Regions from separate parts of the Homo sapiens genome. Here region 1 is linked to region 2. Evidence: promoter capture Hi-C in 16 types of primary human blood cells and fetal thymus (Javierre and others, 2016). All regions are on one chromosome and are shown on one strand. The core of a region is centred on a gene start or on the middle of the fragment in contact, and the rest is flanking DNA. Distances in the headings are between cores, read along the strand shown. Region 1 has its middle 5.0 kb from the start of GAST. Region 2 holds the start of KRT12 (keratin 12).

Region 1 (3,753 bases), core at 458-2,957, 840 kb before region 2:
GGGATAGAGTCTATGGAAGCTGGACCTCCTGGTGTACAGGGGGTTTTGGAACTGGTGAGGCCAGGGTTTGAATCATGGCTCTAACACCGACTAGCTGGGTGAGCAGAAAATTCAATTTCTGGGCCTACCAAATTGAAGACCAGATCCCAGACCTTGGGACCCATCTCCGTCCCCCTCGAGGGTGCAGGTGTGTGGGCCCTGCCCCTGTCATCACAACGATAACAATGCCGTGTACCAGGAACTGATAAGCTCTTAGCATGAATGAATGCAATCACTCTTCACCATGATCCTAGGACCTAAGTGCTAGTGTGAACCCCTTCTTCAGAAGAAACTGATGGGTACGGGGGCTTACGCCTGTAATCCCAGCACCTGGGGAGGCCGAGGCCGGCAGATTACTTGAGCCCAACAGTTGAAGACCAGCCTGGGCAACATGGCAAAACCCCATCTCTACAAAAAATACAAAAATTAGCTGGGTGTGGTGGTGCGTGGCTGTGGTCCCAGCTATTTGGGAGGCTGAGGTGGGAGGATTGCTTGAGCCGGGGAGGTGAGGTTGCAGTGAGCCATGATTGTGCCACTGTACTTGGGAGACAGAGTGAGACGCTGTCTCAAAAAAAAAAAAAAAAAAAAAAAAGAAGTAGAAACTAAGGCTTAGACAGGTGAAGTAATCCCCATCCTGAGTCCACACACCAAAAAGGAGAGGTGGGTCTGAAACTCAGGTCTCTATCCTCCCAGTAGGAATGTGGCAGGCAGAACAATCATGTCCCCAAAGATGTTCCTGCCCCAATCCTTGGAACCTGTGAATATGTGATTACATAACAAAAGAGACGTTGCAGGTGTGATTAAGGTTACTGGCTTTAAAATAGAGAGCTTATGCCAAGTGCAGTGGTGCATGCCTGTAGTCCCAGCTACTCTGGAGGCTGAGGCAGGAGGATCACTTAAGCCCAGGAGTTTGAGACCAGCCTGGGCAACATAGTGAGACCCCTGTCTCTGAAAAAAAAAATTAGGGAGTTTATGCTGGATTATCTGACTGGGCCCAGTGTAATCACATAGCCCTTAACTTTCTTCAGCTAGAGGCAGAAGAGATGTGGCTGAAGGTCAGGTCGGAGAGCTGGAGTTATGAGGACTCCACAAGCAATTGCTGGTCTGAAGATGGCAGGAGGGCAACAGGACGAGGAAAGCAGTGGCCTTGAGGAGCTGAGAGGTTCTCCACCGACAGCCAGGAAAGAGGAATGTCAGCCCCGCAACTACAAAGAATGAAATCTGGCCAACAACCTGGATGAGCTTGGAAGTGGATTCATCCCTAGAGCCTCCAGAAAGAAATGCAGCCCTGCCGACCTGATTGTGGCCTTGGGAGATCCTAATCAGGGGACCCCGTGAGCCACTCTGTACCAGGACTTCTGACCTACAGAACCGCGAGAGAATAAATTGCTGTTGTTTTAAGCTTCTAAATTGTGGTGACTTATTATGGTAGCAATCAAAAATGGATACAAGGGATCACAGCCTTGTGAAGGTTTCTGTTTAGTAAAAACTGGCCCAGCATGAATTTCCATGTAAATTTTCAAATACAAAGAAGGGAGCTGTTCTTTGAGTTATTCTGACCATCCGAATATTCCAAATTCATTCCAATTACTGAGCACCTGCTGTGAGCTAGGGTACAGATGAGGCTACTTGGGGATAAGAGGTGAATATGACAGCGCTGGGTGCAGCGGCTCACGCCTGTAATCCCAGCACTTTGGGAGGCTGAGGTGGGTGGATCACTTAAGTTTGGGAGTTCAAGACCAGCCTGACCAACATGATGAAACTCTGTCTCTACTAAAAAATACAAAATTAGCCGGGCATGGTGGTGCACGTCTGTAATCCTGGCTACTTGGGAGGCTGAGGTGGAAGAATTGCTTGAACATGGGAGGCAGAGGTTGCAATGAGCTGAGATTGTGCGATTGCACGCCAGCCTGGGCAACAAGAGTGAAGCTTTGTCTCAAAAAAAAAAACAGGTGACTATGACAGGACAGACCCTTTCATTGCTTTGGTGGAGTTTAGATTCTAGGGGCATAAAAGAGTAACACACGGCCGGGTGTGGTGGCTCACGCCTGTAATCCTAGCACTTTGGGAGGCCAAGGTGGGCAGATTGCCTGAGCTCAGGAGTTCAAGACCAGCCTGGGCAACATGGTGAAACCCTGTCTCTACTAAAATACAAAAAAAAAAAAAAAGCCGGGCGTGGTGGTGTGTGCCTGTAGTCCCAGCTACTTGGGAGGCTGAGGCAGGAGAATTGCTTGAACCTGGGAGGCAGAGGGTGCAGTGAGCTGGGATCGTGCCACTGCACTCCAGCCTGGCGACAGAGTGAGACTCTGTCTCAAAAAAAAAAAAAAAAAAAAAAAAAAAAAAAAAAAAAAAAGAGTAACAGAAAAACAAGGGTCCCCTGTGAAGGAGACTGTTCCCTGAGGAGGGAGAGGCTTCTCAGTGGACCCAGGCACACTCCTGCCTGCCAGGGCTGGCTTTGGGAAACAGATCACTATTGATGAGCTGCAAACCGTTGTCAGGGAGGCAGTGCCTTGGCTTCCTAATTGGTTATTGATGGCAGAAAAGGAAGAGCTTGATGACGACTCAATCATTCTGGCCCAGGCAACCAGGGCTTTGGAGGATGTGGTAGTTCTGGGGACAAACAGTGACACCTGGAAGGTGTTTGCATCAATGAGGGCATCCATGATCCCCCCTGGGGTAGGGGGCTAGGTAGGGGGAGGTGGGTTCTTGGGTTCTGGCCTCAGCTGCTGTCTGAGAGTGGTGACATGGCAGGGCCAAGAGGGCAGCCTGCAAGCTGCTTGCAGACTGGGCTGGAGAGGCTGCCCACCACCCCTGGGCCCAGGCTGGGCTGTCAAGGACAGAGAGTAGTGGCTACCCTTACTCTGGCTTCCGCTTCTCTCCTGAGCCTCCTCTCTCCTTTTCTCCTCTGATGCCCACCTGTGCCTTCGAAGCAGTGGTTCTCAGCCCAGGCTTTGTATTTGGATCACCTGGCCTCAAGTGATCCTCCCTCCTGGCCTCCCAAAGCCCTGGGATTTATAGGCATGGGCCACCACGCCTGGCCTAACAGTGGTTTTAACTGGGAAAAATAATCCTAAAGGCCCCTCTGTGAGAGGATGAGAGGAGTCTTTATTCGGGTGTGTTCCAGGCTGAATGGCTCATCCCCGGCCCAACAGGTAGGAGGTGAGGGAGCTGAGTTGGGGAACCCCCGGGTCTTGGACTCCATGTGCTGCTGCCTCTTCTCGGCCCACAGCTTCCCATCCCACCCTCTCCAGAAGCCTCGCTCCTGCTGAATCTGTCTTCACTGTGACCTCCAGCTCCTCCACTGTCTGGCTCCTCCCAGCCCGCCTACCCCTCCCAGGGTTTGTCATCTCAGTTCTGTGTGATGCACATAGATTGCTGCCCCTGTCCTGCTTCTGAACCTGCCAGGCTGGTCCCAGGTCCCTGACAGGCCACCCCGACCCCTTCCTCAGCTCCTGCCACTCCCTGCAAAAACCGACAGGAAGTTTCCGAAAGTGACCAGTTGATTCAATTGCAAATTAATATTCTGCAGCTTGGTTGTTACTGGCAACTGTGGTGAATCATTTCTCTTTCATTCCCAAGGTCATTTGACGTCAGCCCCCTTTTCCCCACCGTGAACACAGCTGCCTAAGTCCCGCTTCCGTCCTTTCCTCCTTTCCTCCATCGCTGGAGGTTCTGTCACCCCATTCAGTGTCAGCCCCTCCACCAGGGCCCATC
Region 2 (4,146 bases), core at 1,593-4,092:
TTTGTAGCTTGCCTTTATATTGATACACTCTTTTTTGATTTTGGAAAAATTTCCTCATACATAACACACATTAATGGCCCAGCAGCTTGATTTATCAAGAGAGAAATCAATAAGCATATATTGAATGCTGACTTTGTCCAAGACACTGGGCAAATGGACTAGACATTGAAGAATGGAGGTAACAGCAGACCTAGTACTTGAATACTTTCATGTTGGCTTGGTTGAAATTCTTGATTTAATTTTCAAAAAGACCACATCATTTTGACATAATTCAAGTTGTGTAACAGTTACAGGCTTACTTCACATATTATCTCTGCTATTGAAGTGTCCAAAAAAATCAGGTTATTGTTTTAGTAAGAGAAACAAAAAGTATTGCATATGCTTATGGAAAAACCTTAAACAATAGCCACATATTTGCTAATTTTTATGGTTGATTGTTTGTATTAAGTAAGTAACATCTCAATGATCTCACAGGTATCCAATAATTTTGCTGAGAAATTAATCTTTACCAGATAGATTCAATCTCCACTTTAAAATGTATAGAAAGCCTCCTTTTTGGGAATTAAACATTGGGCACTCATGGACATATAGAATGCCAACAATAGACACTGGGAATTACTGTGGGGAGCAAAGGTTAAACAACTATTGGGTACTATGCTTACTACCTGGGTGATGAGATGAGTCGTACCCCAAACCTCAGCATCATGAAATATACACACGTAACAAACCTGCACATGTACCTCCTGAATCTAAAATTAAAGTTGAAATTTTTTAAAAAAAATCCAGTAGTGGTAAATAAATAAAAATAAAAATCTTCCTTTTTATGAAAGGTATGTATTATTAAATCAAATAAGAATTCAATTTTATTTTAGAAATCTAGAATACTTGTGATATTTTTAAAACTTTTCCTTAGAATAAAATAAAACGCAGAATCCAAATATACCAAATTGAAAAGGAGTTTTAGTGGCCATCTATAAGCAAACAGAGGTCCCTGATGGAGAAATGAAGGCCCTGTTTCCCACGAGGTAGGAAATGTATCATTACAATGATTTTAATGTATTTTATTTCAATAAATCCATTCTAGTCAAAATACATATATGTCTATAGCACACACAGTCAGTGTATACCTTATTAATAAAATTCAGTATAAACATCTTTGCAAAAAAACTGTTATTTACACCCAGAAATTTTATTTCCTATCATCAAATACAGAGCAAACTGAATTTAGAAATCTGAATCCAACAAAGGATTTCGAAGAATCCACAATCCATGTTCTGTACCCAATTATTAAAGTTCAAGTGATAGATAAGTATATAATCTTAAGAGAAAAGCAGATTATAAAATCTTATATTGAATCAATTATGTTCAAAAATGTATATAAAATACTCATATATACATACATCTTCTTTATGTTTTCTGCATCTTCTAAATTTCCTACTATAAATACATAGAGAGCTATATTTAAAAAAAAACTATAGAACTATTTTGCAATGAGACATGTAGAGAATTGGGCCATCATCTCAAAGAAAACATGTAAAAGAAAAATCCTTATTCCTTCTTATCCAATCAAAATGCTCACAATTTAAATTCCTAAGGGAATTCCACCACCCTGGAATTGTACTACTCGGTTTCCAGGTATCTACAACTCTCTCTGAAAGCAGGCTTCTTTCAAGTTAATGCATTTCCTGTAAGAACGTTAGTTCTCATGTTCAATATATAAGCCATATCAATTTCAAAGATAAATAATATACCAAACAAGAAAGTATAAGAACTTTATGTCTTAAAAATTAAAGATACTGGATATAATTCCTTGAAGCACGCTTTGCAAAGTTTTCACAACAAAGTTTAAAATATAACATTTAATTTATTCTATATTGTAAAATTTATCCTTTTTCATCATAGCAGTCAACTGAAATGGTTCACTAGCCTCTTAAACTTGGGGTTTTAATCATTTCTTAATTTGAACTGTGTTTCCACTTTCTCCTTATTGATAATGGCAACAAAATCTGAAGTGTTTACACAATCCATTCAACTAGTCAACACATTTATTGAGCAACCATTACAGGCAATATCTGTTGAAGGAATAAACATAGTAAATGCTGAGTGTAGAGCAGTGAGCAATCAGACAAGGTAAAACTGCTAAAACAACTATAATAAACTCTACTATAAACAACTGTACTCAAAAATAGTACTTTTCCAAGTTGAAGAATAAGAGGGAAAAGAAACATGCAACATCCTAAAGCCAAGGTTTTAAAATCCTTGAAAATGCAAATTCTAGTATCCATCTGGAAAATATATTTATTCTCCACCTTTCACCAGTGCATTTCACAGCTGCTTCTGAAGCTGTATTCCACTAAAAGGTATACTTGATCATGACTGGATTTTACATTGGATTGGTTTTTCCAAAGGAAACAAATGGTTTACACTGGATTTTCCAAAGGAAACAAACAGAAAAGATCAGGGAAGAACTTAAAAAAGCATAAGGTTTAGGAAGAAGTATTTAACGTATCCATTCAGCAATCGCTCATTATCTTCCTACTGTGAACAAGACGCTAGGCAGTGCTGGGAATACAGGCAACAGACTAATTTGGAGAAGAAAAATTCCTTATGACAAGCAGACTCTACTCCACCCAGCTTTCTTTTTCATATAACAAATATTTAATGGAAATGATTATTCGATTATTTCTGTATCAATGAATTTTCATTATACATAAATCATTCACTTGTTGAGCTGGCCAAAAACCTGGGGGGAGGATCCAATTTTGAGTGGAGAAAGTGAACTTTTCAACTGCGACACCCATCTTGCAGCCTATATAAGTTTAGCTTTCTGGCTTGCTGGCACAACTTCCTCTCCAGTTGTGGCCACCTTCCCCAGGCCATGGATCTCTCCAACAACACCATGTCACTCTCAGTGCGCACCCCCGGACTGTCCCGGCGGCTCTCCTCGCAGAGTGTGATAGGCAGACCCAGGGGCATGTCTGCTTCCAGTGTTGGAAGTGGTTATGGGGGAAGTGCCTTTGGCTTTGGAGCCAGCTGTGGGGGAGGCTTTTCTGCTGCTTCCATGTTTGGTTCTAGTTCCGGCTTTGGGGGTGGCTCCGGAAGTTCCATGGCAGGAGGACTGGGTGCTGGTTATGGGAGAGCCCTGGGTGGAGGTAGCTTTGGAGGGCTGGGGATGGGATTTGGGGGCAGCCCAGGAGGTGGCTCTCTAGGTATTCTCTCGGGCAATGATGGAGGCCTTCTTTCTGGATCAGAAAAAGAAACTATGCAAAATCTTAATGATAGATTAGCTTCCTACCTGGATAAGGTGCGAGCTCTAGAAGAGGCTAATACTGAGCTAGAAAATAAAATTCGAGAATGGTATGAAACACGAGGAACTGGGACTGCAGATGCTTCACAGAGCGATTACAGCAAATATTATCCACTGATTGAAGACCTCAGGAATAAGGTAAGATCTCTTTTGGAGGCGCTTTGGGAATTTTTTTTTTCCTTTTTACCATTACAATGTTTTACAGTGATAATCACCTACAACTTTGATATTTTCCAATTTAGCTGTACTTGCAGCAATTTTCTCATCCCAGGTTGTTTCACTCCACTTTATCATTTACTAAGAAATGATTGTATTTCCATTATCTTTCTGTAGGAAATCTGCATTTCTTTACTTCTCAATATTATTTTATACAGATATTGTCTTAGAAAAATGAAACTGTCTTAAACTCTAAATAAAACAGCATTTAATATCACCATTTTCACCTTTGTGTCAAAAATATATTTGTATAATACTAGTCTTTTAGGGCTTCAATCTTGTGTGTGTCCCTCTCTTTTGCCAGATCATTTCAGCCAGCATTGGAAATGCCCAGCTCCTCTTGCAGATTGACAATGCGAGACTAGCTGCTGAGGACTTCAGGATGAAGTGAGTCGAATAAACTGAAGATCATGGGCGTGTCCCACCATGTCTTCTGTCCTACTGTCCTGCCTTCATTGATATAAAATCTTCTGAAGTTCACATACTCCATATATTTACTGTTTTGGTAAATTCACATAGGGTGTTCTAGAAAGTAATTAGAATCTAATGCAATTCAGATTAAATGTCCTTAAATTATAAGTTACTTAAACCCAGGGCTATGGATCACGATATTTGTAGTGTGC

The links. Contacts are between HindIII fragments. The CHiCAGO score rates a contact against its expected background, and 5 or more counts as called.
Region 1: a contact is called between a fragment that was not itself captured here and the fragment with the promoter of KRT12 in region 2, in 1 of 17 cell types (non-activated CD4 T cells). The highest score is 5.3, in non-activated CD4 T cells.

The regions. Positions count from the first base shown.
Region 1 is chr17:41,705,491-41,709,243 of GRCh38, reverse strand. No RefSeq gene overlaps it. Among named protein-coding and RNA genes, the nearest start is that of GAST, 5.0 kb to the left of the region's middle. RefSeq lists enhancers at 548-1,075, 3,400-3,753. The HindIII fragment of the contact is 527 bases long and covers 1,444-1,970 here.
Region 2 is chr17:40,865,919-40,870,064 of GRCh38, reverse strand. KRT12 (keratin 12) reads left to right here and starts at 2,842. Exons shown (of 8, transcript NM_000223.4): 1 at 2,842-3,445; 2 at 3,828-3,910. The coding sequence starts at 2,879. The region is part of intron 1 of LOC105371777 (a long non-coding RNA gene); the gene reads right to left. The HindIII fragment of the contact is 7,860 bases long and covers 1-4,146 here.